6 separate regions of the Homo sapiens genome follow, and regions 2, 3, 4, 5 and 6 are each linked to region 1. Evidence: promoter capture Hi-C in 16 types of primary human blood cells and fetal thymus (Javierre and others, 2016). All regions are on one chromosome and are shown on one strand. The core of a region is centred on a gene start or on the middle of the fragment in contact, and the rest is flanking DNA. Distances in the headings are between cores, read along the strand shown.

Region 1 (4,827 bases), core at 1,707-4,206:
AACACTATACTGAGCAATAACAATAAATGCACACGTGGAAATGCAGACACGGTACACATCACAAGGCCTTTTTCTGAAGGACAGCTGGGTCCCCGCCCTTCGTGGAGTTGAACTCAGGGGGAAACTGAGTCCCTGGGAGGGAAATGCACTTTGCCCAAGGGCCCACAGCTCAGCGGGCAGTCTCTCTCCTTCCACTAGATCACACCTTTTGAACACCCACCATTTGAGGGAGACAGGCTCACCCTGCCATGAGCCATTAACCTATGAGGAATGGTTGACCATCTCATAGAAGAAGACTGGGGAACGGGGCCTCAGGACGAAGCGGAGGAGGTTTGGGGGCAAGGGGTGGGGGGGCAAAAATCAGGGAAAGTTGGCCTGATTTGGGGTCTGGATTAACCAGAGGGAGGAGATGCGGAATACAGACACTGGATCTAGGTGGCACCCCCCTACTGGGGAGAGGGGTAAGGCAGAGGGAAGCCTGGCACCTGAGGAGTCTGGACTTCACAAACCTCTGCTGAACATTGGCAGAGAAAGAGAATATGCCCAGACCAACAAGTAATCCCTAAGGTTGGCCCAAGGGTTGAGAGTTACACACACACTCACACACTCACACAGCTCTTCTTAGGTTGAACTGATCCCCAAATCAAGCGCCATAGGCCCATCTGACTTCCATACGCAGTTTCATATCCAAGGGTTCATTTAATCCCAATATCAACCTTCAGAGGAGGTATTATTATAATTCTCACTCAAAAGAGCAGGAGACAGCATCTCAAAGAGGTGAAGAGCATGCCCACCTGGTAAGCAGGAGATCCAGCACTGATACCTAGCAGTCTTGATGCCAGCATCTGTACTCTAAACTGCCATATTACAGCGCCTTATGGGCCAAATACCTTACAGCAAATACCTTAATGAATAAGATACAGTTCTGTTGCTTGTCACAAATCCCCAATCTCTTCAACATCAGTGTCTACACAAGGAAATTCTTTTAATCACAATTATGCCTGATGCATTATATTTACATCTAATATGCCCTTGTCCTCATTTTCCACTCAAAGAAAGTGAGGCTCAGAGAAAAGTGACTTGGCCTTATCACCTAGAAAGTCAGTGGTGCAGCTATAGAGCCAAGGCCAGAGCCTGTTCCTTGAAGAACAGGAGATCTGGCAGGACGCAGCGGCTCACACCTGTAATCCCAGCACTTTGAGAGGCCGAGGAGAGTAGATCACCAGAGGTCAGGAGTTTGAGACCAGCCTGGCCAACATGGTGAAACCCCATCTCTACTAAAACTACAAAAATTAGCCAGGCATGGTGGCACATGCCTGTAATCCCAGCTACTCAGGAGGCTGAGGCAGGAGAATTGCTTGAACCCGGGAGGTAGAGGTTGCAGTGAGCCAAGATCATACCACTGGACTCCAGCCTGGGCAACAGAGCTAGAGTCCATCTCCAAAAAAAAAAAAACAAAAAAAACAACAGGAGATCCAAGAGATCCCCTGAAACCTGCCTTTGTTCCCTGCTCTAACCTAACCACCACCCCCTCACACCCCTGCAACAATTTCTCCACTAGAGGGCAATAAAAAATCTTGAAAGCTGCAGTGGGGTAGAAGAGTTGCCCAGAGGCCTGGCCCTTAATTCTAACACCCTACTCCCCTGGCCTCCCCTCCAAAGCTCCTTGACAGTTTGGGTCTATCACATTCTCTGAGCCTTAACATCTTCCTTCAAGCAGTGACCATCTCCAGCTAGGGTCCTTACTCCCAGTTTCAGCAGAGGAAACTGAAGGACTGTGACTTGCCCAAGGGGAGCCAAGGCCTCCCCCAGCTCATCTGCCTCCTTAATGTCACAAGGGGCCCAGGGCTAGACCATATGTGGCTGAGGCGGGGAGCCCAGGCTCTGTCCTCCAGTGTGGCATTCTCACTGCGCTTGTGGGGAGCCTTCAGCTGCCCTACCTTGTGAAGCCAGAGACCTGGGGTTGGGGACCCTGAGGATTAGGTCTGGGGCTCTAGCTGCAGGAGCCTGGCTGAGATCCTTCATTGCCTAGGGGGGTCTCCTTGATGGGACTTACTCAGGACCCCAGGGGATCGGTTTGGAAGGGGCAGTCCTATATAGGGGTTAGGGATGGCAGGGCCAGAGGTCCCAGCCTCTGGCGAGGGGCATTCCCTGGCCTCCTCTGCCCTGGTCCCAGTCCTTGGGTACTGAGAGGGAGACTACAACAAGGAAGCACTAGGACAGTCTACTTACTCCTAAGATGTCACTCATCCTACAACATTCATCATAAGACCAGTCGCACCCAGAGCCGTAGTGAGGCGGGTGAAGCTGCAGATAGATAGATGATAGATAGATAGATAGATAGATAGATAGATAGATAGATAGATAGATAGATTTTTTTCTTTTTTACAAGAGTGTCTCTCTGTTGCCCAGGCTGGAGTGCAATGGTGCAGTCACGGCTCACTGTAACCTCCACCTCCCGGGTTCCAGCGATTCTCCTGCCTCAGCCTGTAGCTGGGACTACAGGCGCGCGCCACTATGCCCGGCTAATTTTTGTATTTTTGGTAGAGACGGGGTTTCACCATGTTGGCCAGGCTGGTCTCGAACTCCTGACCTCAGGTGATCCACCCCCCAGCTCAGCCTCCCAAAGTTCTGGGATTACAGGCATGAGCCACCGCGCCCGGCCGATAGTTATATTAATCCTTTCTTTCATTTATGGATCTCAGGAAAAGGGCAGACTTGGTCGGGAGAGTAGACCCACCAGAGCTTCAGATTCCAAAGCCCTCCGGGTCAGGGTAACTGCGGCAACCAGAGCCCCAGCCCTCTGGTCTCGCACGTCACTGGAGGATAGGGGCTGGGCCACGGGAGGGCGGGGCGCGCCCTCTGGAAGGCGCGGAACTGCTGTGCGAGCCGAGCGCGTTGCTGCCCGGAGGCTCCTACGCCACGGCCCGTCGGGCCCGGCGCCGGAAGTGAGCTGTTCCGAGGCGCCGCCGGGAGCTGCCACGTCCGAGACCTGGAGCAGCCACCGCCGCAATCATGGTGAGTGTTGGTACTGAGGAGGCCTAGCAGGGTGAAGGCCACGGTCGCGGCCTTCACGGGTTCCTCGGCCGTCCTGAGTCCCAAATCCCAAGCTGGAGCCGTTCAGCTCCCCTCCACCGCTTAGAGATTTGGGGGGCTCTGGCCCCGTCCTTGCGGACCATTCCGAGGGGAGTCCAGAGGTGAGGCCGAGGAACCTCCCTGACTTTGCGGGGCGCGCCGCTCCTGCGTCTCCTGCCAGTCTCCCTTCCTTCTTTTCGGTCAACAATTGAAAACAAAACGAGGAACAGCAGAGGAGCTACTGTATACCGAGCCCTCAGCATTGTTCGTAATCTCCGCCTGCTAACAGCCTTGTGAAGAAGGTGCTATTCTTCTCAACACTTTACAGATGAGGACACTTGAGGTTCGGAGACGTGGAGCCTCTTGCACAGCTGCTTAAGTGGTAGTAGAGCCGAGATTTGAACCCTCCTAACCATTCCTTTCTGCCGCCTACTGCAGCTCCCAGCAGAGATGATTGAACTGTTGCTCGGGGTAGGGCCCCCAGGTAGGATGGGCACCTCGGGAAACGTAAAGATGGCCTGAACGACCCTCCGAAGGCAGGGGCTCAGGGTTTTTTAAGTCTCTGTGGCATCTGCAGTGTACATTCACTCCACACTTACTCCTTGAGTGAATGAATGACTGAAGGAGAACTAAAGAATGGAAGTATCTGGGCTGAGCCTGGAATATCTAGTACATGCATTCTTTTAGAAACATGGGTGTGTCTCAGCAGCAGGTTTGAGGGAACCTGCAGGAACCTAGAAATCAGAACACTGTGTTCTTGTTCTGCAGAGGGTTAGGTGTAAATCACTCACCTCTGGCTCTTCCACTGCAGGTTAGAGTTGAGGCTTTTATGCTCTGACATTCAGCTCATCCTAAATGAATTTTTAACTCATTATCTGATCTCAAAGAGGTGAATTATTTTGAGTGCAGGTGTTAACAGGGACCAGATAATACCAGGTCCCTGGGAAGAAGTACTCTAAGAAGTTCTCTCTCTCTCTCTCTCTCTCCCCACCCTCCCTCTCTCCCCACTCCCTCTCCCTCCCCCCTTCCTCTCCCTCTCCCTTTCTCTCTCTCCCCCTCCCTCTCTTCTCTCTCTCTCTCCCCGCTCCCTCTTCCTCCCCCCTTCCTCTCCCTCTCCCTTTCTCTCCCGCCCTTCCTCCTTCCTTCCGTCCTTTTCTCTCCCCCTCCCTCTTTCCTCCCCCCCCCCCCCCCCCGCCTTCTCTCTCTCTCTCTCTCTCTCTCTCTCTCTCTCATTCAGAAGTGTGGTTCATCAACCCTGACTGGTGGGTGAGAGTGGTTAGAATTAAATGCTGATTATTTCTAAGGTCCTTTGGTAACCTGGTTGAAACTACCTCTCAGTAAACTTTCTTCGTGAACCTACTTAACCGCAGCTTTACAGAACTCAGTGTAACAACTGCTTTACATTCTAGACAGGCAGCCTGGTGGAGTGAAGTTTTGTGGACTCAGCATTAGAAGGTTAGGGGATGGGGCTCTTTTCCCAGGTCTGCCTTGAACTAGCTCTGTGACTTTGGCAAGTGCTTTCTCTTCTCTGGGCTTCTTCATTTCCTTAGTCTGTCGCAGGTCTCTGATTGACTGTGCCCTTGGTACCCTGCCCTCCCCGCCTTCCTGTGCACTTTGTAACCTATACAGCTCGGCACATGGAGGAAACTCCTTATTGTCCTTACTTGCCTTTGCAGACTTCGGGGACCTGGTTTTTAGAGAGTCTAGAATCTGATGAGAGAACCTGTGCTTACTTGGTGTGTACCTCTTGAA
Region 2 (4,827 bases), core at 1,090-3,589, 960 kb after region 1:
GGTCTATAAAATGAAAAGTAACCATAAAATGATCAACTTAGAAAACTATTTTAAATATTGCTCCATTCAAACCTGTGCCAGACTTTCCACTGAAATGACAAAATATATCTTGCCACGGTCTCTGCTGATTTTGCATGATGACCCAAGTTTCTCTCTGACTTCATCTGCAGCTGTTTGCTCAAAGCCAGTAGGTACAGTGGCTCCAATAGTGACTAGAAGCTCAGATTCACTTCCGAGGTCACTTTCTGTCACTTGTACAGACTTCTGGTTCTCATGAAGGTTCACATCTAGGAGTTGGTTAGTGGCTTCTTCAATGTCACACATGTTGGCTGTGCTTCCAAGATCCCTAACACTGTCTCTTTAAAAGCAGTACTGTCCTTTAAAAGAAAAAGAAATAAAGCCCAAATATTATCATCTCATATTTCAGTTATAATTAAAAACATGGGCTCTGGAGGGCAGGAAGAACAAGGCAACACATCTGATAAACAGTCACCAAAGTAAAAAGGGTTGAATAAACATGGGCACAGAGTGCAGGCTGTAAAACATGATGTTATTATTAAAGAAGCAATACAGATACCATGGGAGAAAAAGAGACAAGAAGTATTTCCATAGCATGCAATGTTTGCTTTGGGGTAACCCATGTTGACAAAAGCCATTTCATAACTACGACAGAAACTGCAGATCACATTCAAATCCATTTCTGCATCTAGATGTTAAGAACATGGTTAGTTAAGAATATAGGGCTTGGCTGGGCGTGGTGGCTCACACCTGTAATCCCAGCACTTTGGGAGGCCGAGGCGGGCAGATTGCCTGAGGTCAGGAGTTCAAGACCAGCCTGGCCCACATGGTGAAACCCCGTCTCTACTAAAAATACAAACATTAGCCAGGTGTGGTGGTGGGAGCCTGTAATCCCAGCTACTTGGGAGGCTGAGGGAGGAGAATTGCTTGAATCCGGGAGGTGGAGATTGCAGTGAGCTGAGATCATGCCACTGCACTCCGGCTGGGGTAACAGAACAAGACTCTGTCTCAAAAAAATAAATAAATAAATAAAATAAATAATAATAATAATAATAATATGGGGCTTTTGGAGTTTCAGATAGATACAGGTTTGAATTCTTGCCTCCACCATCATAGGTTGAATGACTTATGGCAAATTAATTCTCCCAAACCTTCAAATGTAATTAAGTAATTAGTAATACCTCTTTCCTAGAGTCGTTAGGAGACAAGTGAGAGTAGTACCTGGTTAGGCCAATAATTAAAACTTATTAATAGGCTATCTATCTTCTTCCCTCCTGTGAAATAGCATTTCATGCATTTAAAAATGATTAACTGGGCTGGGCACACTGGCTCATGCCTGTAATCCCAGCACTTTAGGGAGCTGAGGTGAGTAGATTGCTTGAGGCCAAGAGTTCGAGACCAATCTGCGTAAGATGGCAAAATCTCATCTCTACCAAAAACACAAAAAATAGCTGGGCGTGGTGGTGGGCGCCTGGAGTCCAGCTACTTGGGAGGCTGAGGTGGGAGGACTGCACTCCAGCCTGGGTGACACAGTGAGGCCCTGTCTCAAAAAAAAAAAAAAAAAAAAAGAAAAAATTAAAAATAAAAATGGTTAACTGAATACTTACTATCTAATGATTACAAATGTTCAAACGCCTACTACTTGCCAGACTCTGGGATCCATAGATGGGCATCAGGAGAGAGATCTTGGAAGTAATCCGAAATAGTAAAACAAATTTCCTATGCATAAGCTTTTGTGTGTGCTTGGGGTGGGGGCCGGGGGAAGTATTAGAGAGGTGGAGGGGCCATAGCTTACACGAGATTTTCAAAAGGTCTGTGACTCAAAATAACTTAATTGAGTACAGAATACCTATAATGTCCTTGTGCTGTGCCAGCGATACACGACAGTGTTTAACACTACGTCAGTTCCCGCCGTTAAAAAGCTGACAGTCACTGTGAATACAATCTCCATCTTCTAAAAAATGCAGCTGAGGTCAGCTAAAGGACGCGTTCCGCACAAGGTCAGAGAGCCAATGAGAGGCGCAGAATGAAAGAGAACTCACGTCTCCCAACTCCCACCTACAGGGCCCGGGAATCCTAGGGAGCGGGTAAAGGCCTGGGAGAGGGAGCAAGATGGGCTCCGCCACGAGATCCGCCTGAAGTCCGGCTCGGCGCCGGCCTCAACTGCAAGAGGAAGGCCACCCCTCTCTCCCCAAGCTGAAACACCAGAAGAGCCACACTCGGCCGTTCCCAACCGCCGCCAGTTACCGGCCGCCAGCGAAGACCCTTTCAGCTCCCACACTCCATTGGCCTCTTGCGGTCAGGTCACGCCGCCGGAAGCCGCCCCCGGAAACGGAAGTCAGGCTACGAGTCACGGTGGCTCCGCGCTGGCGGCGGGTTCCCCCACAAGGTCTTGGGGAAAGGAGCATGCGCTGGAAGCTGTGTGCTGTTGGTTTTGAGGATCTTCAGTAAGCTGAAAGCGGAGAGTCAGGGGCCTTGTGTCCTACCATGGTATTTGCTAACGTTTAGAGAGTGCTTCCCCTTGCCGAGCACTGGGTAAGCGCTTCACATGCGTCATCTCATTTGGAACAAGTCTCTTTTGTTCTAGCACCTATGAAGTGGCAGAGACTGATTTCTGTTTTAAAGCTGGAGACACCGAGTCTCTCCAGCTTATTTAAATATCTTTCTCAAAATGTCATGCCACTAGTTCCTGATTTCTGTATTGCCATCACTATTTTAGCACTGTTTACTTCATATTTTTCTTTAGTTTAAAAAAAATAGAAATAGTGGGGCTCACTATGTTGCCTAAGCTGGTCTCGAACATCTGGGTTCAAGTGATTCTTCTGTCTAGCCCTCCTAAAGTGCTGGGATTACAGGCATGAGCCACTGTGCCCAATCAGATGAACTTTATTTCTCATAAAGGGTTGAACCTGGCCGGGCACAGTGGCTCATGCCTGTAATCCCAGCACTTTGGGAGGCTGAGGCGGGTGGATCACTTGAGGTCAGGAGTTTGAGGCCAGGCTGGCCAACATGGTGAAACTCCATCTCTACTAAAAATACAAAAGTTAGCTGGATGTGGTGGCCTGCACCTGTAGTCCTAGCTACTTGGGAAGATGAAGCAGAAGAGTTGCTTACCCAGGAGGCAGAGGTTGCAGAGAGCCAAGATTGTGCCACTGCACTCCAGTCTGGGAGCAAGACATCATCTCAAAAAAAAAAAAAAAAAAAAAAAAAAAGAGTTGAACCTGCATGGTAGCCATTTTGACAGACTGGGAAGCCTAGCTTCCAGTCAGAAGCCAAAAACAGGCACTTCCAGGGTTGGAAGAATAAGACAGGGATTTATGCTAAACACAGTGGCCAAATATACATGTTAAATAAACTGTAAGAGGGGTCACGAATATTTATGAAAGGAGCAATTTGTGCATGTGCAGTTGAGCTTCATGCCTCTCTGTGGATCCCATGTTTAAAAAATGGTGGCCTTAGCATGATCCAAGGGTAGAGTTTTCTACCGCTTGACTTCAAAAGGTGAAGCAGGGGATGTGAAAACCCTCACTGCACGTCCTCTGTCGACTGGCCAGAACCACTCCCTGGATGGTGGGTGATCTCTTATCAGGAAGGAATGCTAGTCGGTTGTTCTATTGAAACTGCAAATGGGAGGGTCAGCATCAGGCTGGTGGAGTGAGTCTTTCAAAAGGGCTGGTTTCTGTTTAACCCTTAGGAAAGAAAATCTAATGGCGATTATAGAGGGAGGGGTTATAAAGAGGTGTGTCCGACTTCCCATCCTGTCATGAGTAGGAACTCAGCTTCCAAGTTTTTTCTAGGGTCTCCTTGGCCAAGAGAGGGCCTGTTCAGTCAGTTGGGGGGCATAGAATTTTATTTTTATTTTTCAGTTGACAAAAGTTAACTTATTGTGAAAGGAACCCAACAACAAAAAGATAAACCGAATTTAAAACAAAACAAAACCAAAAAGAACACAATTTATAAATGTGCAAAGGGGCTGGGAGTGGTGGTTCATGCCTGTAGTCCCAGCGCTTTGGGAGGCTGAGGTGAGTGGCTCGCTTGAGCTCAGAGTTTGAGACTAGCTCTGGCAACATGGCAAAACTCTGTCGCTACAAAAAAATGACAAAAATTAGCTAGGCATGGTGACACTCACCTGTAGTCCCAGCTACTCGGGAGGCTGAGACAGGAGAATAGCTTGAGCTGGGGAGGTTGAGGCTGTAATGAGTTATGATCACATCACTGCACTTCAGCCCAGGTGACAGAGTGAGACCTTGTCTCAAAAATAAAATGAAAAATATGTAAAGGGCTTGAATAGATATTTCTCCAAAAGATGGACAAATGGCCAATAAGCACATGAAAAGATGCTGAACATCATTAGTCATTAGGGAATTGCAAATTAATCACAATGGGATACTCATCAAAATGACTAAAAGTAAAAAACAAAAAATCAACAGTTCCAAGTTCTAATGAGTATGTGGGGCAATGGAGCACTTATACATTGCTGATGAAAATACAAAATGATATATGCCCTGGTATGTTTTAGCTCTGTGACTCCACCTAAATTTCATCTTGAAGTATACTCCCATAATTCCCATATATTGTGGGAGGGACCCAGTGGGAGATGATTGAATCATGGGGGTGATTCCCTGCATACTGTTCTTGTGGTAGTGAATAAGTCTCACAAGATCTGATGGTTTGATAAGAGGTTTCCACTTCCGCTTCTCCCATTCTCTTTCTTGCTGCCGCCATGTAAGAAGTGCCTTTCACCTTCCACCATGATTGTGAGGCCTCCGTAGCCACATGGAACTGTAAATCCATTAAACCTCTTTCTTT
Region 3 (4,827 bases), core at 1,439-3,938, 670 kb after region 1:
AGGAGCTTGAGACCAGCCTGGCCAACAGGTGAAACCCTTTCTCTACTAAAAATACAAAAATTAGGCTGGGTGCAGTGGCTCATGCCTGTAATCCCAGCAGTTTGGGAGGCCAAGGCGGGCAGATCACGAGTTCAAGAGATTGAGATAATCCTGGCCAACATGGTGAAACCCCATCTCTATTAAAAATATAAAAATTAGCTGGGCATGGTGGCGGGCGCCTGTACTCCCACCTACTGGGGAGGCTGAAGCAGGAGAATCGCTTGAACCCAGGAGGCGGAGGTTGCAGTGAGCCGAGATCACGCCATTGCATTCCAGCCTGGGCGACAGAGTGAGACGCCATCTCAAAAAAAAAAAAAAAAATTAGCCAGGCATGATGGTGCATGCCTGTAGTCCCAGCTACTAGGGAGGCTGAAGCAGGAGGATCGCTTGAATCCAGGAGGTGGAAGTTGCAGCGAGCCAAGATCGCACCACTGCACTCCAGCCTGGGTGACAGAGGGAGACTCCTTCTGAAAAAAAAAGTTTGCAAGAAGTTAGTCCAAAGGTAGTGAGTTATCTCAATCGATTGTTCAGTTACAGATCTAACTCCCTGTTCTGCCTGAATTGTTATAAATACATATAAATATATATACATCTAAGTTTGCAGGAGATCAGAAGGCCTGGAGAGATAATTAAGGCCAGCCGCAGCCAATATGAGGTGTAACTTATGCTAACCCTAATCTTCAGGGTCATGTAAGTTGGAAGAGGGGTCCAGAAAAACCAATGACCTACAGCCACTCAAAAGACCCTTACTGGCCAGGTGTGGCGGCTCACGCCTGTAATCCCAGCATTTTGGGGGGCTGAGGTGGGAGGATTGCTTGAGCTTAGGAGTTTGAGACCAGCCAGGGCAATATAGCGAGACCATGTCTCTAGGAAAATAAAGAAAAATTAGCCAGGCATGGTGGTGTGTACCTGTGGTCCCAGGTGCTTGGCAGGCTTAAGTGGGAGGATCGCTCAAACCCAGGATTTCGAGGCTGCAGTAAGTCATGGTTGCACCACTGCAATCCAGCCTGGGCAGCAGAGCGAGACCCTGTCTCAACACAAAAAACAAAAACAAACAAACAAAAAAGCCAGGCGCGGTGGCTCACGCCTGTATCCCAGCACTTTGGGAGGCTGAGGTAGGCGGATCACCTGAGCTCAGGAGTTCAAGACCAGCCTGGCCAACCTGGGGAAACTCCATCTCTACTAAAAACTACAATAATTAGCTGGGCGTGGTGGTGGGGTCCTGTAATCCCAGCTACTTGGGAAGTTGAGGCAGGGAGAATTGCTTGAACTGGGGAGGCGGAGGATGCAGTAAGCTGAGATTGCGCCACTGCACTCCAGCCTAGGCGACAAAGCGAGACTCCTTCTCAAAAGAAAAAAAAAAAAAAAGCAAATTCCAGGATCCCACCCCCAGAAATTCTGACTTGGTAGGACTGGGTGGGACTAAGGAATCTCTGTTTTCACAAAGTATCCCATAAGCACAAATTTTAAAAGTACCCCAGATGATCATTAAACAGGTGGTCCCCAGACTATACTTGGAAAAATTACTTGGCCATTTGGAGAGTGAGGAAGTCCAATCCTTACTGAAGTCTTCCCTGGGTTACTTCAGAGACTACAAGATGCCAACTACAGAATAGCAACTCACGGTAATCTCTGAGGTCAAATCAGAGTTCTGTGGTGCAGGATGGAACAGAATTCCACTGGAAAACTTGGTGCTAAAGCTGCCAAAACCACGTGGGGGAATGAGATGGCAGGGTCGGCAAGATTCCCACCGCACTGCCAGCCAGTGCTTAGGGTGGGGATGGCCTGAGCTGACAGGAAGCCCTCCAGGTCTGGCGATAAGACGACTGGGTGGAAATCCCAAAGGGAGCAAAAAGAGGAACGGAGACCTGCTTTAGATAAAGGAACTGAAAGGGAGTGTGGGTTGTCTTCCTGCTCTATAGGGGAAGGAAAGGGATGGGCCTAAGTCATGCTGAGACCTTATAAGGGGGCAGCACACTGGGTTCACCTCCTGGCTCCATTCTGACCTCTGACCCCGAGGAATCGTCTCCCTATTTTTCTTAGCTTTTTCTTGGGGCTTTTTCCCTGACACAACTCATCCTACGGCACCTGAAGCAGGGAATAGACCTTCCTTAGGTCCTCCTCTCTGATCTTTGAACCTGGCCCCTCAGCTTGATCTCTCACCTCCAGACCCCTTCTCAAACAAGAAGGACCTCTTTGCTGGGCTCATTCTGACCCCAGTTCCTCCTTTTATGGTTGTCAAGACCGACTCTTATACTCCGGATACAGACCCTGGAGAACTCCTCTCTCTCTCTCCTCTTCCTCAGCGGCGAGGTACCACTCCTACCTTTTTCTGACCCCTGGCCTCAGCCTTTCCTCTGTAACTTCCCAAGTTAGGAGCCTTCCCCAGCTCATCGCACCTCCAATCTCACCTTAGAGCCGCCGGTCCCGCTGCCATCCTTGGCCCGGTACTGAGTCCGGGAGAACTCCTCCAGCAGCTCCCCAAGCCCCAGCTCCTGAGGCGGCTGGTTGCCTGAAGAGGCCGAGGACCCCGCCGAGGCAGCGGCGGCGGCGGCCCGAGCGCCGGCCATGGCCCAGCCCCGCGTCCCCTCAGTGTGCCTCAAGCGGGCCCATGGCACCTGCCTGCACCCAACTCCGACACTAGAACCTCCGGAACCGCCTCAGCCACCGCCTTCTACTTCCACTTCCACTTCCGGCCCCGCCCCGTCCCGCCGGATGTTTACTCCGACTCTGGCCAATCGGAGCTCTGGACCCGCGCCCCGCCTACGATTACTGGCCCGCCCCCGGCGCAGAGCGATCCTTCTATCCACCAGGGAGGCCACTGGCTGATACCGCGTGATCCGCCCCAAGGGGTTTCCCCCGGGGAAGCCGGGCTCAACCATTGGGCTGCCGGGGGAGGGGGGTAGCAGGAAGGAACCATTGAAAAGAACCAGAGGAAAAGTGGAATCAACAATTACAGGGAAGCCGAGCGTGGTGGCTCACACCTGTCATCCCAGCACTTTGGGGGGCCGAGGCGGGCGGATCACTTGAGGCCAAGAGTTCGAGACCAGGCTGCCAAAATGGTGAAACCGCATCTCTACTAAAAATAAAAAAATTAGCCGGGCATGGTGACACCCACCTGTAATCCCAACTACTTGGGAGGCTGAGGCAGGAGAATCGCTTGAACCCATGAGGCTGAGGTTGCAATGAGCCGAAATCGAACCACTACACTCCAGCCTGGGTGACAGAGCAATACTCTGTCTTAAGAAAAAAAAAAAATTACAGGGCGAGGAGGAGAGAACGCTTGGAGGCAACAAATTAGTACTAGAAACCATAATGGCAGTGGTTACCAATATTAAAACATTTCAGCCGGCCGCGGTGTCTCACGCCTGTAATCCCAGCACTTTGGTAGGCCGAGGCAGGCGGATTATGAAGTGAGGCATTCGAGACCAGCCTGATCAACGCAGTGAAACCCCGTCTCTACTAAAAATACAAAAATTAGCCGCGCGTGGTGGCAGGTGCCTGTAATCCCAGCTACTCGGGAGGCTGAGGCAGGAGAATTGCTTGAACCCGGGAGGCGGAGAGTGAGCCGAGATCGCGCCACTGCACTCCAGCCTGGGTGACAGAATGAGACTCCGTCTCTAAAACAAAAACAAAAACACAACATTTCATAAAACCCTTTCTCCCCCTGCTGCTCACAACATCCCTGTGAGTACAGTGCATTATATCATCAGCCCTATTTTATTGAGGTAGAAACTGGGAGTCAGGGAGGTGAAGCGACTGCCTTGAAATTCTGTGATGAGAAGCCTCTCATTATTATTATTATTAGAATATTTCAGACATTCGCAAAAGTGGAGACAATAGTATAATGAACCCTCATGTACCCATTAACTGGTTTTGAACAATAATCAACATCTGCTTATCTATCCTGTTTAAGCAGTCCCTTCCCATCCAGGGAATTATTTTAAAGCAAATCCCAGACATCACATTATTTCAGCTGTGAATACTTAAGCATTTATCACAACAGATTTGTACTTCAAAAAAAAAATACATAAAAAATATAAGGCTATTAACATGCCTAAGAAAATTAACAATATTCCTTAATGTGGTCTAATACCCAGTCTGAATGAAAGTAATTCGTTTTTGTTAAACTTTTAATAGAAGTATGATATGTACACCAGCGCCCCGGAACCCTCCTCCTGACCACTTTCAGTCACTACCCACTCACCAACAACCACCCACCACCCTGCCCCCCCAACTCCTCCCACCCCCAGTTAATCACTATCCTGGCTTCTAGAGTTTTAATACGGTAGATTGGTTTTTAATTTAATTTAATTTTTTTTTTTTTTTTTTTTTTAGAAACGGTTTCACTCTTGTTGCCTAAGCTGGAGTACAGTGGCATGATCGTGGCTCACTGCAGCCTCCAACTACTGGCCTCAAGCAATCCTCCTGCCTCAGCCTCCCAAGTAGCTGTGACTACAGGCATGTGCCACCACACCCAGCTACTTTTTAAATTTTTTTGTAGATACCGAGTCTCACCATGTTGTCCAGGCGAGTCTCAAACTCCTGGGCTCAAGCAATCCTCCCACGTCTGCCACCCAAAGTGCTGGGATTACAGGTTTGAGCCACTACTCCTGGCCTACTAGATATTTTCTGACAAATCTATATACGCATTTGTCTTAAACACCAAGGAATGAAATGACTGGATTATATGGTGTTAAAGAAAAATTACAGGCCGGGCATGGTGGCTCATGCCTGTAATCCCAGCACTTTGGAAGGCCAAGGTAAACTGATTACCTGAGCCCAGGA
Region 4 (4,827 bases), core at 717-3,216, 620 kb after region 1:
AGTGGGTCATCAGTCCAAGCCTGTTCTCCACAATACCACCCCCACCCCCAACCTCTGCCCAGCCCCATTCAGCCTCACCTTCTGCAGGTCCCAGCAGTGGCAGCCAAGAAGGAAGAGGAACAGTGAGTAGGGGGCACAGGCAGGACACTCAGGCAGGAGGAGAGGGACCAGGAGGGTGGGTTGGGGGCCTGAAGAAGATGGGGTCTGGGTCGAGGGTTGGGAGGAGTTCTGAGAGTCGTTGAACACATCTAAGTGCCTCCTGTGCGCTCCGCCAACCCTCGAGGAAACGTTTGCTCACCGGTTTGGAGATGTTGGTTTTGGAGTCCACGTTGTACCTGGGAAAAGAGTGGAACCGGTGTGGGGTGGGGCTGGGTGGGGGAGAGGGTGGAAAGGGGTCGGGCACCGAGTCTTGGTGAAAATTTTGGGTGGAGGGATGGGCGGCCGTGGACCCGAATTCAGCTTTGGTCTCCTTTTGGGGAGGAGTCAGGGTGGGCTGAGTAGTCAGACGGTCAAGCCTGGGCCGAGGCCAAGTCAGGGGCTGCTGGGGGCAGGGTTGTGTGGAAGGGGTCGGGCCTGAGGTGGAGCTGCGATAGGAGCAGAGTTGTGGGCGGGGCCAGAGCGGGGGACGGAACTGGACCGCATCTCATAAAAGGGCAGGGCTCAGGCTAGAGGGGGCCATTCAGAATGGGAGGGAGGCCTGCGAGAAGAACCAGGCCGGAGGCGAGGCGGGGGTGGGGCCAGCCAGAATTCCGGGCGGATCCAGGTCGGGGGCGGGCCAAGCCAGAATTCCAGGCGGGGCCTCACACATCGAAGCGCAGATTTTGCTTTTCCTCAAAGAAATAGTCGAGGACGAATTTGCGCACGAAGTCTGGGTTCAGCGTGTTATCAATCACCTCGGTCCGTCCGAACTGGGTAGGGGGGTGGAGGGTCAGCGTGGGACGTGCAGACGGGCAGGGGAATTCCCGGGCGACGCCCTGGGCCGGGAGGGGGCTCTGGGACTCACCTCCCGCCACTCCTGGCTGGCCCGGCTCTGCGTGTAAAGCACCACCACTGCAGGTGGGGGCGGGGAGGGAAGGACGTCAGGTCGGCTCCCACCCCTGGCCCCGACTCCACCCGCCCCTGAGTCGCGCCCAGACCCCAAGTTCCCCCTCCCGGTCCTGGAGCCGCCTACTGGGGTCGGACTTGGAGAAGGTATCAAGGTCTAGCAGGTTCCTAGAGAAAAGCAACAGACAGACAGAGTGGATCATCCTGGAGTCCGCCCGCCTCGAGTCGGCTCTGAGCCGGGCACTGAGGAGAGGCATGGGGCCCGCATCGAACCTCTGTCCCCCATGGCTACCCCCAGCCGGGGTCCGCTCTGTCAGCACTCTGGACAGCACCGGAAATCGCTGTCCAGGAACCATGGCTCTGCGGACTGGACGCGAACGCACCCACACTGTCTCCAAGGGCCCAGGAAAGAGGGCTCGCCCCAGAACTTTGTCCTCCTGGGGCCGAGCTCCTACCGGATATCTGCGACCCACCCCCTGAACCCGCAGGCTGAGCCCTTTTTTCGGGGTGGGGCTGCCCAAGACCCCCCGCTTCTCGATCCCACCAGCTACTCGCCCTGTCATCAGCTGTGATTTTCCAGCCAATTTCGCCTCTCCCCGGGGGTCTAGCCCCTGCCCAGGCTGAGCCCCGCGGCTGGCTGGGGCTGGGGCAGTGCCAGTGCCTAAGCCCTCCCCAGCGCGGCCCGCTCACCGGCAGGACACGGTAATTTCAATCTTGGTGGCCGGGACGCTGCGCTCGGAGGCTCCGCCGAGAGACATGGCTGGTCGGGCGACCAGAGCCGCAGGAGGCTGCGAGACCAGGGCTGCTGGGGCTAGGGGCGACGGCAGCGGCGGGGCCGGCCCATGTGCCGCGGTGTCGGCGGCGGCGGCGGCTGCACTCGCTCCAGCCCTGCGTGCGCTCCAGCCGCTCGCGCCCTGACAGTGGCCGCCGGCGGCAGCGGCTCCAGATGGCAGCACAGCCCCGCCCGGCCCTGCGGGCGGCCCCCGCCCCATTGGAGCAGCCTGGAGCCAGCGGGGAACCTCACCCCGACTCCCAACTCCAACCCACACCTTGGTAGAGTCTGCCCTGCGCAAGTCTCTGGGGTGGAAACCCAAGCCCCCTAGAGTTGTCCATGATGCTGAAACATTTGGGGCACCTGGTGGGCACTGGAATTGTTGCCTCTTACTGAGCCACTCCCTTAGTGTTTCTGTCTTTTCCCACTCCCAGCCTGCCTAGGTCTCTGAATAGGAAAAGTACATCTCTTAGTAGCTGTGTGACCTTGGACAAGTTACTCAACATCTCTGTGGCTCAACCGTGAAAGGCCGTCAGAAAGGCCTTTAACAGCAGCTACTTTAGGTGCTGTAAAATTTTACTGAGATAACCCAAGGAAAACACTTAGCACACAGCAAGTGCTCAGTAAACATTCACTGGTATTTATGATTTGTCCTCTGGGTATTCACAATGATGACAGTAAATGGTGGCTGTTGAGCACCGTGCAAAGCTGTCTGCCCATGCCTTTAACCCTCACGACTTTCATGGCGTTACAGATGCGGACACACTCTCATGACGCAATCTACTGTAGGTTACACTGTAGAAGAGGGTGGTGGTCAGCCAGGCTCTCACCCACCACACATGCACACCAATTGCTATCTCCAAAGCTTCAGAAGCCAGTCCTTCCTCCATAGGCAGGGCTCAAGGTAGGGGATGCAGGTCACCCGTACCAGGACCCTGCTGCCTACAGAACTTGTTAAAGATGAAGATCCTGGTCAGGTACGGTGGCTCATGCCTGTAATCCCAGCACTTTAGGAGGCCAAGGCAGGCAGATCACTTGAGCTCAGGAGTTTGAGACTGGCCTGGCCAACATGGTGAAACCCCATCTCTACTAAATACAAAAATTAGCTGGGGATGGTGGCACGTTCACGTAGCTACTCAGGAGACTGAGGCAGGAGGATCGCTTGAACCCAGGAGGCAGGGGTTGCAGTGAGCCAAGATTGTGCCATTGCACTCCAGCTTGGGTAACAGTGAGACTCCATCTCAAAAAATCTGAAAAAAATGAAGATCCTCCAGCTCCTAATTCCCAGGCAACTTCCTTAGCAACCCTAAGGCTAAAGCTCAGGCAGCCCTGGGAATGTGCACAGCTCATCAGGCTCTCTAGGTGACTAGGACCTGCTTAGGCCCGAGAACCACTACTCTCAACAGTCTTGAGTGTTGTCCCCACTGCAGGGACTACCATGGCTCATGAGTGGAGAGGTATACCTGTCGCCAGTTCTCTTCCTGTTTCACCTGCCCTCCACATAAAAACCCCTTGTCCAGCACAAGGAAGGACAATGAGAACCTTCCTAGTAGCTCCACAAAGACAATAACCAAATGATGACACAAGAGTGGCTATTCAAAAAGACTTTGATTTTATTTTGTGATCTGTGTCAAACTGCCTCATTCTCAGTGCAGGTGATCCCTCCTCCCCAGAAACAAGAACTGACAGGTAGGGTCTTTGTGAAGTCATGGCTTCCACAAGGCCCCAGGGAAACCCCACACAGTTCTGAGAGTTGATGGGAATCCCAGCAAAGATGGGGTGGGTGGGAGACAGTGACAAGAAGGGGTGGTGGTCACCAGTCAAGAGGCTGGGGGTTGGAAAACCCTGTCTTTGGCCTTGCTCAGCTTTGGGGCTGCCATGTTCATGATGGAGATGGGGGACTGAAATTTCCCCTGACCTGGAAGTACCCCTTCGGCCAGGCATGGCTTTGATTCTCTGCTAAGGGCTCAGCTGAGAGAGGAGCAGGAAAATGTCATGGGCTGGCTTCTTCACAAGGCATTGCTGCTGATGCTCCGGAGTCCAACACCACGGGCAAATTGCTCCAGCAGGCCCCCGATGGCACCGGAAGGACTGGGGGCTACTGCCCGAAGCCCCACTGTGCTGCTGTACGCAGCCAAGAAGGCTGAGCGCACCTCCTGCAGCCGAGTCTCTCGATCACTCAGGGCTGCAAGCCTATGGGGAGGTCAAGAGAAAGAACAAAGACATTACCCTGGGACAGGACCCAGTATCCTCATCCTCCCTCCCTCCATACCACCTGTCCTTGTGCTTCTTCTGACTGTACAAGGCCAGTGTCTGTCCTACGGCCATGCTATCCTTGTGGTTCAGGCCCCAAATATCTGGCCCTGTTTTCCCTTAAACCATTCCTCTAAGCCCTCAGGCTACTGTTCCCACCTAGAGCAGGAGCTTTTACTGGGACACTAACCTTTTTTTTTTTTTTCTTGAGACAAGGTCTCACTCTATTGCCCAGGCTGGAATGCAGTGACACAATCAGCGCTCACTGTAGCCTCAAGCCATCCTCCCACCTCAGCCCCTCAAGTAGCTGGGACTACAGGCACATGCCACCATGATAGGGTTTTACCATGTTGCCCAGGCTGGTCTCAAACTCCTGGACTCAACTGATCCGCCTGCCTTGGCGTCCCACAGTACTGGGATTACAGGCGTGAGCAACTGTGCCTGGCCTGACCTGACCTGTTGTGAAAATAACTATCTTTGCGATCACTGGGAAGGAGGGTAGCTAAGCAGGAGGGAATTTGCCCCAGCAGCTCTCTGCTTCCACTCCTCAGGAAGAGCAAGCTGAGGCATGAAGTCTTATACCTAACAGTAAGGAGGCCCCTGAAATCTGGCAGCACGCTGCAGCTGTTGAAAGTCCTCAGCCTTGGCTGTAATCCCAGCACTTTGGGAGGCCGAGGCAGGTCAGGAGTTCGAGACTAGCTTGGCCAACATGGCAAAACCCTGTCTCTACTGAAAATATAAAAATTCACTGGACATGG
Region 5 (4,827 bases), core at 1,290-3,789, 550 kb after region 1:
AGAGGAGGGAAGACAGAGAAAGCAAATCCTATGAGTACTACATCTCCAGTTCCAGTCTCCAAGCCCCTAATCTCTGGTGTTTTTCCTGCAATCTTGTGCCAGCTATTGTGAACTATAGATTCCTCTTGGATGAAGCTGGTTTAGGTTGGCATTCTGTCACTTGGGAAGCGAAAGAATCTCATCAGTTAGTCTGTGTGTGTTTTCAATACATTATGGAATTTTCCTGCAATGACCATGTATCACTTGTTCAATAGAAATACTAAGAAAGTAAAGATAATGTGTTTGTTAAAGAAAAGAAAACACGAGGCCTCTCAGAAATGCTCAAAAGCAGGAAAAATGTAAAGCACACCATAGAAGCTGTACAAGTCAGCTGGGCGCGGTAGCTCATGCCTGTAATTCCAGCACTTTGGGAGGCTGAGGCAGGTGGATCACCTGAGGTCAGGAGTTCGAGACCAGCCTGACCAACATGGTGAAACCCCCATCTCTACTAAAAATACAAAAATTAGTTGGGCGTGTTGGTTCACGCCTGTAGTCCCAGATACTTGGGAGGCTGAGGCAGGAGAATTGCTTGAACCCAGGAGGCGGAGGTTGCAGTGAGGCGAGATGGCACCATTGCACTCCAGCCTGGGCAACAGAGGGAGACTGTCTCAAAAAAAAAAAAAAAAAAAAAAAAAAGAAGTTGTACAAGTCCTCGAAAGGACAGAGGTCATCTTATCACCCAGGGGGTGTTGTCATCAAGATGAACAGGAATTTGTGGTAAAAGAACCCCTAGCTCAGTGGGTGTGCTTGGTGGGTATAGGGGAGAGTGGGGGCTCAGCCCTGAGCAGGAAATGTATTTTTCCATGAACTAAGGAGTCTGAGATACTGAGATTTGGAAGATGGATCCCTTAACCCCTCATCCCTGGCCAAATCAAGTCCTCTCTCTGAGTCTCAGTTTACACTGAGTCTAGCTCTCATGTTTTGAATAGTGTTCTAGGCACTTCATATCATTATATCATAGAATTCTCAGAACTCTGAGTCAATCTTCAATATTCCCATGTTCCCGAGTAAGAAACTGAGGTTCGGAGAGGTAAAGCATGACCAGGATCAGTTAGACTCCAAAGCCTTTCCAGGAACCTCAGCTATCTTCCTCTCTCATCTGTAAGATGGGCATAATAAATTGGCCAGGTGCAGTGGCTCATGCCTGTAATTCCAGAACCTTGGGAAGCTGATTGGGGAGGATTGCTTGAGCCCAGGAGTTTGAGACCAGCCTGGGCAATATAGTGAGATCCCCATCTCTACAAAAAATAAAAAAGCCAGGTGTGGTGGCACGCACCTGTAGTCCCATCTACATGGGAGGCTGAGGTAGGAAGATGACTTGAGCCCAGGAGTTTGAGGCTGCAGTGGGCCGTGATCATGCCATTGCACTCCAGCCTGGGTGACAGAGCAAGACCCTGTCTTAAAAAAAAAAGAAAAAGAAAAAAAGAAGAAGAGAAAGAAAGAAAAAAGAAAGAAAGAAAGAGAAAAAGGAAATGAGCTGGGCATAAGCACTGTTCTCTCCCCATCACCAGCTGGAACATGCAAGAATTCAGGAGTAGGGAGTGGCACTTGGAGGCCCTTGGAGGTGGAGTGGGGTCCCAAGCAACGTGCCTCCTCCGGCTGCCCCCAGTTCAGCCCCATCCCCAATTCCTGCGAGTTGCTCCCCCCGCCCCCTCTTTCCACTCGGCACCAAATTTCTTCCCAAGGAAGGCCTTGAGCAAACCGACCTTTGGCCTCTTGCCTGCCGTCCTAGTTGCAGGCTCTCTCCCCTAACCTGGACCCCAGCCATCAAACTCTGGAGCCCCGCCAGTCACGTGACACCTCGGTCCTTTTTGGCCTGTTTCCTTCAGGATCCCGATTTAACTTCCTCCTCCCCAATTCCCTCTGCCCCCAATACCTCTAGGCACCACCACCCGCTCTGAGGAGCAAGTGTCTGGGGCTGAAGCCTCAGCTCCATCTTGCAGAGGAACCGGGGCCTCAGTCTTCCCACCTGTCAAGTGGGGCCCACACCCTGCGACCACCTCCACTCTCTTCATTGCCTAGTCTTGCCCGGTCCTTCCCCACTCCCTCACTCCCCCATCCCCCACCAGACTCCCGTGCAGTTCCAGGGCCTGTTTCCCTTCAGGGCACGGAGAAGGGAGACAGAGCCCTAAGGGAGGTCGCAGAACTGGTCTGAAAGAAAATCCACCAGGCCACAGGGTGAGTTTGGCCGGCCTCTAGCTTCAGACAGACGGGGTTCGAATCCTGCTTTGCTTCCGACCACCCGCTGATTTGAAAATCATCTCTCCGGGCCTCAGTTGTCCCCTCTGTGAAATGGACCCCGCTTAAGACCAAGGGCGGGAAGCGTCCAGCAGGAGATCTCTGACCAGAAGCAGGGAGATGGCCTCCACCCGTGCCCCTTCCCCAGCCTTGGAGCGGTGCCTCGCCTCCCAATCCCGGGTCCCTCCGCCGCAGGCTCCACCTCCACTGACATCAGAGCCGCAGGCGGGCGGAGAGAGCCGCCGAGCCGAGCCGAGCCCCAGCTCCAGCAAGAGCGCGGGCGGGTGGCCCAGGCACGCAGCGGTGAGGACCGCGGCCACAGCTCGGCGCCAACCACCGCGGGCCTCCCAGCCAGCCCCGCGGCGGGGCAGCCGCAGGTACAGCCGGGCCCCCCATCCCTGCACCCCTGGGCGCTGCGTGGGGGCGGTGGGAGCCCCTAGCCTCTGGGTATCCTTTCCCAAGGAGTGGCCACTGGGCACTCTCCCGGGCGGGCTGGACCCTGAGGGGCAGGGCTGGGCCTTTCTCCACCTCTGTCCCAGGCCCAGCAGGTGCCAGGCGGGCCTATGGGACACTGAGTGGGTAATAGAGAAGGGGGCCTGTGTGAGCGCCTTCAGCTGGGCCTGACTGGAAGGGCGTGGGCATTTGGAGGTATCCATGGGGTGGGGGGGCTTGCGGAGTGTACTGTCTTAGGACAGGCGTGTGGGTCAGACATGGGTGGAGGATCTGGGAATCTGTGTGTTTTTTGTTCCAGAGGGGTGTCCACGTGTTTTGTGTGCTGGTATTTGGCTCTCAGGGTCTTAAGTCAGAGTTAGGAGGGGGTGTACAATTGTGTACTGAGGATGTTTGGAGTTAGGTGTGTAAGGACTTGGGGTTTGGTTTGGAATACAGGAGCTTCCAGGGGATGGGGTAGAGGAGCTGGAGGGTGTAGGGTACGTCTGGTATATGAGGGTGTGTGTGTGTGTGTCTGGGTGTCATCTTGTGTGGGTGCGGGTGGATGTGTGTTTTGGGGTGTAAGAGGGAGCTGGGTGAGGGATGTTTGGATGGACAGGCAGGTGTTCGGGTGCAGGGCTGTCTGGGGCACTGTGTGGTGTGGACATGTGTGCTGATGTCTGGGAGTACATGTATGATCAGGTGTCACGGGATGTGGATACAAGGCGTACTGGATCTGGGAGGCAGGTGTTTGAGTTCAGGGCTGTGGAGGGGGCTTGGTGTGGCATGTCTGCTACAGGGATGTGTGTGGATCTGTGAGGGTTGTATTTGGTAGGCCTCCATGTGGGTTTCAGACTCTGCCTCTAGAGCTTACACTCGAGTCTCCTTTCCTAGAAGATTCTGCCCCTGGATGGGTGGGCAGGGTCCCCTGGGAAAAAGGTCCTGTTCCAGGAGTGGAATCTCACACCAGAGGCCCTAGTCAGGGCACCTTCTCCTCATTCTCCCTTAGAGAAAAAGAGAGAAGGAAAGTGCTCTCCCTGAGGTCACAAAGCATGCTGGGCTCTGTTTTGGCCTCATCTGTGGATGGGTTGGGAGGCTGTGTTCTCTGAATGGGGCCCATTCTGGCTTCATATTGGAAGTACCAGCCAAGGCCATTCGATGGCCTTTGCCCTCAGCAAGCTTAGCTGGGGGCCCCAGGCCAGGTGTCATTAGGGCCTCTGGAGCCAGCCTCTACCTAACTCCAACCTCAGTCTCCCCATTCTTCATCTGATAAATGGGAGAGAACTCCCACCCTCTCCTGCTGGATGAGACAGACCTCAGCAGAGGAAGGGCCAGGCTGGATAGGGTTAGATGGGGCCAGGAAGGGACAGAGTGAGCAGGACCATTTCTCATGCTCCCGGGACCCAGATGGGGAGTCAGGAGGGAGAGGTCTGGGGAGCTCCAGCTGTGGCTGTTGTTGCTGTGGTAACAGTGCAGAAAGAGCTATTTAAAAATGTGGCTGAGATGTTGCTGGAAGCCCAGGCTGCTGGAAACCTGATTTCGGAGAGGCCGGGGAGTCGGGGGAAGGAGGAGGGAAAGGAGACACCCCAGCAATCCCCAGGGTGGGGCGGGGACATCACTGGTTCTGGGGACAGGGGGATCCTCCAGGCTTCTACCAGCTGCTCTGGGGGTTTATCTGTTGTACTGCCAGAAGTCAGGGTTTCCCTAGGTGCTTGGATTTGGATAGGGGGAAAACTGGGAAGAGAACTAGAATAAATGAATGAATGAATGCATGACTTTGTTAAATAAAGAATTTTGCTGCCACTGTGAAAGGTTTTTCTCTAGGCATGAGAATTTGCTGAATGTTGAATAAACAAATGAATGTTTGTTGAATGATTTTGTCAAATGGATGAATCAAGGATGAATAAATGCAGGTTGAATGACTGAATGGGGCCTGCAGTAAATTCCCAGACAGAGGGCTGGGCTCTGCTGAGTCTCCTCCTTCCATTCTCCTTACAGGAGCCCTGGCTGTGGTCGGGGGGCAGTGGGCCATGCTGGGGGCAGTGGAAGGCCCCAGGTGGAAGCAGGCGGAGGACATTAGAGACATCTACGACTTCCGAGATGTTCTGGGCACGTGAGTCC
Region 6 (4,827 bases), core at 1,342-3,841, 530 kb after region 1:
ACTGTGCTCCAGCCTGGGTGACAGAGCGAGACTGTGTCTTAAAAAAAAAGAAAAAGAAAAACCACTTCCAACGAACTGTGGTCCAGCCATTCAATTAACTACTACTTGGTAATAAAAAAAGAGTAACTATTGATACACACAACATGGTTGACTCTCAAATGTATTATGGTAAGAAGCCACACTTAAAAGCCTGCATACTAAAGAATTCCATTTACATGACAATCTGAAAAAGGCAAAACTACAGGGGGGAAAAATCAGTAGTTGTCTGGGGTGGGAAGGAGAGGACTGATTACAAAAGGGCTTGAGGGAACTTTTTGGGGTGACGGAAATGTTCTGTATTTTGGTTGCAGTAGTGGTTACACAACTTGACTTTTTTTTTTTAAGACACGGGATCTTGCTATATTGTCCAGGCTGAAGTGCAGTGGCTATTCACAGGAGTGATCACAGTGTACTACGGCCTCGAACTTCTGGGCTCAAGTGATCCTCCTGCCTCAGTGTCCTGAGCGGATGGTACTACAGGCGCATGCCACCATACCCAGCAAGTTTTTGCAACGCTTTTTTTTTTGAGACGGAGTCTTACTCTGTTGCCCAGTCTGGTGTGCAGTGGCACGATCTCGACTCACTGCAAGCTCTGCTTTCTGGGTTCACGCCATTCTCCTGCCTCAGCCTCCTGAGTAGCTGGGACTACAGGTGCCCACCACCACGCCCGGCTAATTTTTTGCATTTTTAGTAGAGAAGAGGTTTCACCGTGTTAGCCAGGATGGTCTCGATCTCCTGACGTCGTGATCCGCCCGCCTCTGCCTCCCAAAGTGCTGGGATTACAAGCGTGAGCCACCACGCCTGGCCTTTGTCAACAGTTATAGAAAGTAAACCTAAAAAGGGTGACTGGCTCCGTGACGCCTGTCCTTTCATGAATAAAACAGATGTAGTCTCATGTAATACCTCAATAAACTTGAACTTTTAAAAATCAAGAGGCATGTGCCCCACTAGAAAAAAAAAATACAGATTTTTAGCAGAGACATGAGGTCACAAAAGTTTGCCAGGATAGGGAACCCAGGAGGAAGAACAAATTTAGAATAGAATATGAGTTTTGAACTAGAGGTCTAATTTCAAGGTCTCTTCAAGATATCCAGGCAAACCTTGAAAGAGAGCTGAGAAGCCAGATTAGGAGTCATCAGAATGAAGAAAGTTATCGAAGCCAGGAGACTAGATCGGTATCACCAGGGAAGGTGTGACGAAGAGGGAGATGGTCATCCAAAGTCACAACTCCCAGGAATGCCCACACGTATGAAAAAGGCCCACATGTATGAAAAAGGCCCACATGTATGAAAAAGGGAGGACTTCCAGGAAGGGAGGGATGAGCAGTATCACAGCTAACATACACTAAGGCTGACACAGTTCAGTTCTGACCAGGAAGGGCCTGAATGGAAGCAACACGAGAGATCCTCCAATGGGGTGGAAGCAGGGCTGGAGGTACCAAGAATGGGATAAGGAAGTGTGGCCGCCTGCCTTAAGCAACTGTAGGGTCAGGAAGGCAGAAGAGGACAAAGGGCGTATGTCGTGAAGTTCCACTGTGGATAGGCAGGTGGACTTGCTTCATGCCTCAGAGGCTAAGAGGCCGACTACGTACCCTCGAAATGCTCCAAAGAGCCTAGGAGACCCCACTTCCGGGTTCCTACAGGGCTCAGGAAAAGCCCCTACCTGCTTCGAAGGCTGACCGTGAAGCCACAAGGCCCACTTCATACCAGGGAGTACCCCCACTCGCCCCTTCCTCACCTCGGGCCCCCGCCCCGTCTCTTTTTCCCACCCTCATCGTGTCCCCACAACCCCCGGACATCCCTCGGCCCCGCGCCCCTGCGGCAAAGCCACATCTCCCACCGACCCACTGCCCTGAGGCCGAACAGCCGGGGGTCCCTGGCCGGGGGCCCGGCTCTCTCACCATCGCGGGCGCTGGCTGGGCCGGAAAGCGGAAGTACGGAAGTGGCCAGCCCCGCGATGCCTGCCCTTTCGCGAGAAGCGCAGCTACGGTCTCCGCCCGGACTTCCGGACGGTACCATCTATGCTCCGAGCGGGGTAGAGAGCCCTTACGAACGCTTGGGCCTTCCGGAAGTTTTCCACCTAGGGCTGTCTCGGTATTTTTAAATTCTTGCACTCGAGTCACTATTTAAGCTCCTCCAGGAATGGGTGCAGCTTCCCTTTGTGCCTTCGGCCTTCTTGTCACCTTTGCCACAGCCTCCCCCAGGTATGCAATGGTACAGCCCAGCTTCAGATTGGGCACCAAATTAGGACAAGCCGAAGCGGACGAGCCCTTCGTTTCTTCCGGTTCTGTACCCCCATCCTTTCTCTCGCCCCTCCTACCCGCAGCTCCTGGCGCTCGGCGGGGCTAACTGCAGCGCGGAGATCTCGGCCGCCAAGCTCCGCCTCCCGCCCCGGGCTGTGCCCCGGGGCTCGCCTGAGGCCGACCACCCGCACCCCACCTCTAGCGGCTTTGCTCGAGGCCCACCTTCTTCCCACCCCCGGCAAACTCCAGTAGGCTCGCCCTCGCTGACTCCCCGCCCCCGCGTCAACTGCAAGGGGCCCGCCCATAGCCAGTTCCGGGGCGGTTGCTCACATCGACCGGAACTCCCCGCCCCCTCCCGCGGCCCCTGGGGCCGTAGGAGGCCGCAGCGAGGAGGTAGAGGGGGCGGGGGTCGCACTAGGGTGTCCCTAGAGAACGAGGACTCTGAAGGCGGGACATTTGGGCGACCCCCGGGCGGGGCCAGCCATTAAACAGTCCCACTTCTGTGCCAGACACTGAACTGGGCTCTTGACGGGCATCATCTCTTAATCCTCAGAACATCCCAGGGAGGTAGGTACTATTGTTATCCCCATTTTTCAGATTCAGACTTTTAATGGGGAAACAGACCGAGACTTCTTTTGTCCCCATTTTACAGATGGAAAAACTGAGACTGAAAAAGGTCAAATAACATGTTCAGGGGCATATAAGTAGAGAATGGTAAAGCCTGGGCTTGAACCCAGGTCTGTCTGGCTTACCAGCCCACGTTCTAAACCACTGTTAGTGACTAGAGAAGGGAGAAAGGTGGAATAGGGTAAGAAAAGAGGCCAAGAGTCCCAGAGAACATGGTAAGAATGGGGTGCTTGGAACTCAAAGTCTTAGCAGAACCCAAGAGAAATAGAAGGGAAGGAAAGAGCATCAGAAAGGCGAGGCAAGGCATAGCAGTATAGCATGGTGATCAGGGTGCAGACTCAAGACTAGCGGGGTTCAAATTGCATCTTGGAAGCATAGGCACATACCCACCCTTACAGAGTCTCAGTTTCTTTCTCTGTAAAAACGAGATCACAATGGTCCTTGTTCATGGTGCTGAGTGAGAAATTCAGTGAGATAAACTGATAAAGTGCTCTGCACCTAGCTTGGTACCCAGTTAAGTGCCCTGTGAGTAGGAACTGTGCCATCAATTTTGTCAGTAAGGGACTGAAGCTGGGCTTCCTTGAGGCTGTCCCTGGAGGTAAGAAGCCCTTGGGCTTTTCTCAGACCACTTTGTCTCCCATCAATGGCCCTGTCCTCTCCAGCTCCACAGGATCCCCATATCCTGGGCCATGAGTGAGTTGAAAGACTGCCCCTTGCAGTTCCACGACTTCAAGTCTGTGGATCACCTGAAGGTCTGTCCCCGCTACACGGCAGTGCTGGCACGCTCTGAGGATGATGGCATCGGCATCGAGGAGCTGGACACCCTGCAGCTGGAGCTGGAGACCCTGCTGTCTTCTGCCAGCCGGCGCCTGCGTGTGCTTGAGGCCGAAACCCAGGTGATAACCCCAGAGAGGGGCCAGCACCAGAGATGGACTGCAACAAGTTATGGGATGGGTCATTGAGTTAGCCCCATATGCTGAGACTTGGGGTACAGGGGTTTGTGGGGAGAGGGAGAGAGACGCAAACTGGGTTTGCATGACACAAAAAATACACAAGAATATGCATGATCCTCTTAAATTGCAAGATTTCTAATTCAGTAAGCTTTTATTGGCACCCCACTCATCCCCCATTGTGTTCTGGGTCCTATGCTAGTCATTAGAGAAAGGTAATTAGGACAGTTATGGCTGTCAGGGAGCTTGGCAACTAGGAAAGTGAGAAAGTCAAGTACATACCAGGTGATGTGATGTTGTGGTTAGCAGTCCTAGGGAACTGGAATGGGGAAACCTGGATTTGAATCCTGGCATAAGCGCTTGCTAGCATTGCTGTTTCCTAGCTATGTGACTTTGAGAAAGTTGCCTCATATCTCTGAGTGTCAGTTTCCCTATCTGCAAAGTGGGGTGAATAATAGGACCTACCTTAGTGCTTTTGTGAGGATTAAAAGAGAATTTTTTGCAAAAACTCAGCCCAATGCCAGACACTAAGTAAGTACTTCAGATGTTATTTATTTGCTACTCTGATGACTTTATTCACTGCATAAAGATGCCTTGAGCCTTGTGTGCCAGGCGCTATGCTGTATTCTGCAAAATAGAGATGGTTAAGGTGGGCTTTCTGGTCCTCAGTAGCTTATGGTCTAGTTGAAGAGACAAGGTGTGATGGTCATTCCAGTGTGACCAAACAACACGATTGGGTGCACGTTGGAGCTGTGAAGTGCCAGAGACTTGTGGAGGAAGGAGGTGCCAACTGGACCTAAAAGGATGAATGGAATTAACTTGTCCCTGGGAATCCATGGACCCTCCTTGAGGAAGGCTATGACTCAAGTTGTATTTTAGCATCTAAGAACCTGGGTAACTGATTGAGAGAAGGCATCTCAGTAGTGGTGACATCGAAGTGAAGGTTTGCTGAGAGGACTCTTCTGTTAA

Evidence for each region. Contacts are between HindIII fragments. The CHiCAGO score rates a contact against its expected background, and 5 or more counts as called.
Region 2: a contact is called between the fragment with the promoter of THUMPD3 here and the fragment with the promoter of SEC13 in region 1, in 10 of 17 cell types (activated CD4 T cells, total CD8 T cells, total B cells and 7 more). The highest score is 14.9, in activated CD4 T cells.
Region 3: the fragment with the promoter of MTMR14 here is called in contact with the fragment with the promoter of SEC13 in region 1 in 1 of 17 cell types (monocytes); the score reaches 5.5 in monocytes.
Region 4: a contact is called between the fragment with the promoter of CPNE9 here and the fragment with the promoter of SEC13 in region 1, in 1 of 17 cell types (monocytes). The highest score is 5.5, in monocytes.
Region 5: a contact is called between the fragment with the promoter of CAMK1 here and the fragment with the promoter of SEC13 in region 1, in 2 of 17 cell types (monocytes and total CD4 T cells). The highest score is 6.2, in monocytes.
Region 6: a contact is called between the fragment with the promoter of TADA3 here and the fragment with the promoter of SEC13 in region 1, in 6 of 17 cell types (activated CD4 T cells, naive CD8 T cells, total CD4 T cells and 3 more). The highest score is 7.5, in activated CD4 T cells.

The regions. Positions count from the first base shown.
Region 1 is chr3:10,319,241-10,324,067 of GRCh38, reverse strand. It overlaps SEC13 (SEC13 homolog, nuclear pore and COPII component), which reads left to right and starts at 2,956. Exons shown (of 9, transcript NM_183352.3): 1 at 2,956-3,018. The coding sequence starts at 3,016. It overlaps ATP2B2 (ATPase plasma membrane Ca2+ transporting 2), which reads left to right. Exons shown (of 23, transcript NM_001001331.4): 23 at 1-45. RefSeq lists a silencer at 2,721-2,800 and enhancers at 2,648-3,243, 2,991-3,290. The HindIII fragment of the contact is 12,357 bases long and covers 1-4,827 here.
Region 2 is chr3:9,360,566-9,365,392 of GRCh38, reverse strand. THUMPD3 (THUMP domain 3 tRNA guanosine methyltransferase) reads right to left here and starts at 2,339. Exons shown (of 10, transcript NM_001114092.2): 1 at 2,266-2,339; 2 at 73-377. The coding sequence starts at 324. It also overlaps a transcript of SRGAP3 not described here. RefSeq lists enhancers at 1,890-1,949, 1,970-2,049, 2,120-2,179, 2,400-2,609. The HindIII fragment of the contact is 4,632 bases long and covers 1,751-4,827 here.
Region 3 is chr3:9,647,366-9,652,192 of GRCh38, reverse strand. MTMR14 (myotubularin related protein 14) reads right to left here and starts at 2,688. Exons shown (of 19, transcript NM_001077525.3): 1 at 2,451-2,688. The coding sequence starts at 2,609. RefSeq lists silencers at 2,524-2,623, 2,724-2,833 and enhancers at 2,705-2,874, 2,161-3,056, 2,864-3,093. The HindIII fragment of the contact is 16,951 bases long and covers 1-4,827 here.
Region 4 is chr3:9,700,972-9,705,798 of GRCh38, reverse strand. It overlaps CPNE9 (copine family member 9), which reads right to left and starts at 1,966. Exons shown (of 21, transcript NM_153635.3): 1 at 1,735-1,966; 2 at 1,172-1,212; 3 at 1,004-1,050; 4 at 805-908; 5 at 299-335; 6 at 79-81. The coding sequence starts at 1,802. MTMR14 (myotubularin related protein 14) reads right to left here. Exons shown (of 19, transcript NM_001077525.3): 19 at 3,406-4,009. The coding sequence ends at 3,826. RefSeq lists an enhancer at 1,417-2,327. The HindIII fragment of the contact is 18,760 bases long and covers 1-2,683 here.
Region 5 is chr3:9,767,659-9,772,485 of GRCh38, reverse strand. It overlaps CAMK1 (calcium/calmodulin dependent protein kinase I), which reads left to right and starts at 2,539. Exons shown (of 12, transcript NM_003656.5): 1 at 2,539-2,654; 2 at 4,705-4,819. The coding sequence starts at 4,737. It also overlaps a transcript of OGG1 not described here. RefSeq lists a silencer at 2,589-2,768. The HindIII fragment of the contact is 10,493 bases long and covers 1-3,887 here.
Region 6 is chr3:9,790,237-9,795,063 of GRCh38, reverse strand. TADA3 (transcriptional adaptor 3) reads left to right here and starts at 2,591. Exons shown (of 9, transcript NM_006354.5): 1 at 2,591-2,848; 2 at 3,571-3,804. The coding sequence starts at 3,598. It overlaps ARPC4-TTLL3 (ARPC4-TTLL3 readthrough), which reads right to left and starts at 2,516. Exons shown (of 12, transcript NM_001198793.1): 1 at 1,940-2,516. The coding sequence starts at 1,942. ARPC4 (actin related protein 2/3 complex subunit 4) reads right to left here and starts at 1,982. Exons shown (of 6, transcript NM_005718.5): 1 at 1,940-1,982. The coding sequence starts at 1,942. It also overlaps a transcript of OGG1 not described here. RefSeq lists enhancers at 1,317-1,406, 1,606-2,132, 2,107-2,206, 2,133-2,659, 3,764-4,264 and silencers at 2,337-2,626, 2,687-2,776. The HindIII fragment of the contact is 10,858 bases long and covers 1-4,011 here.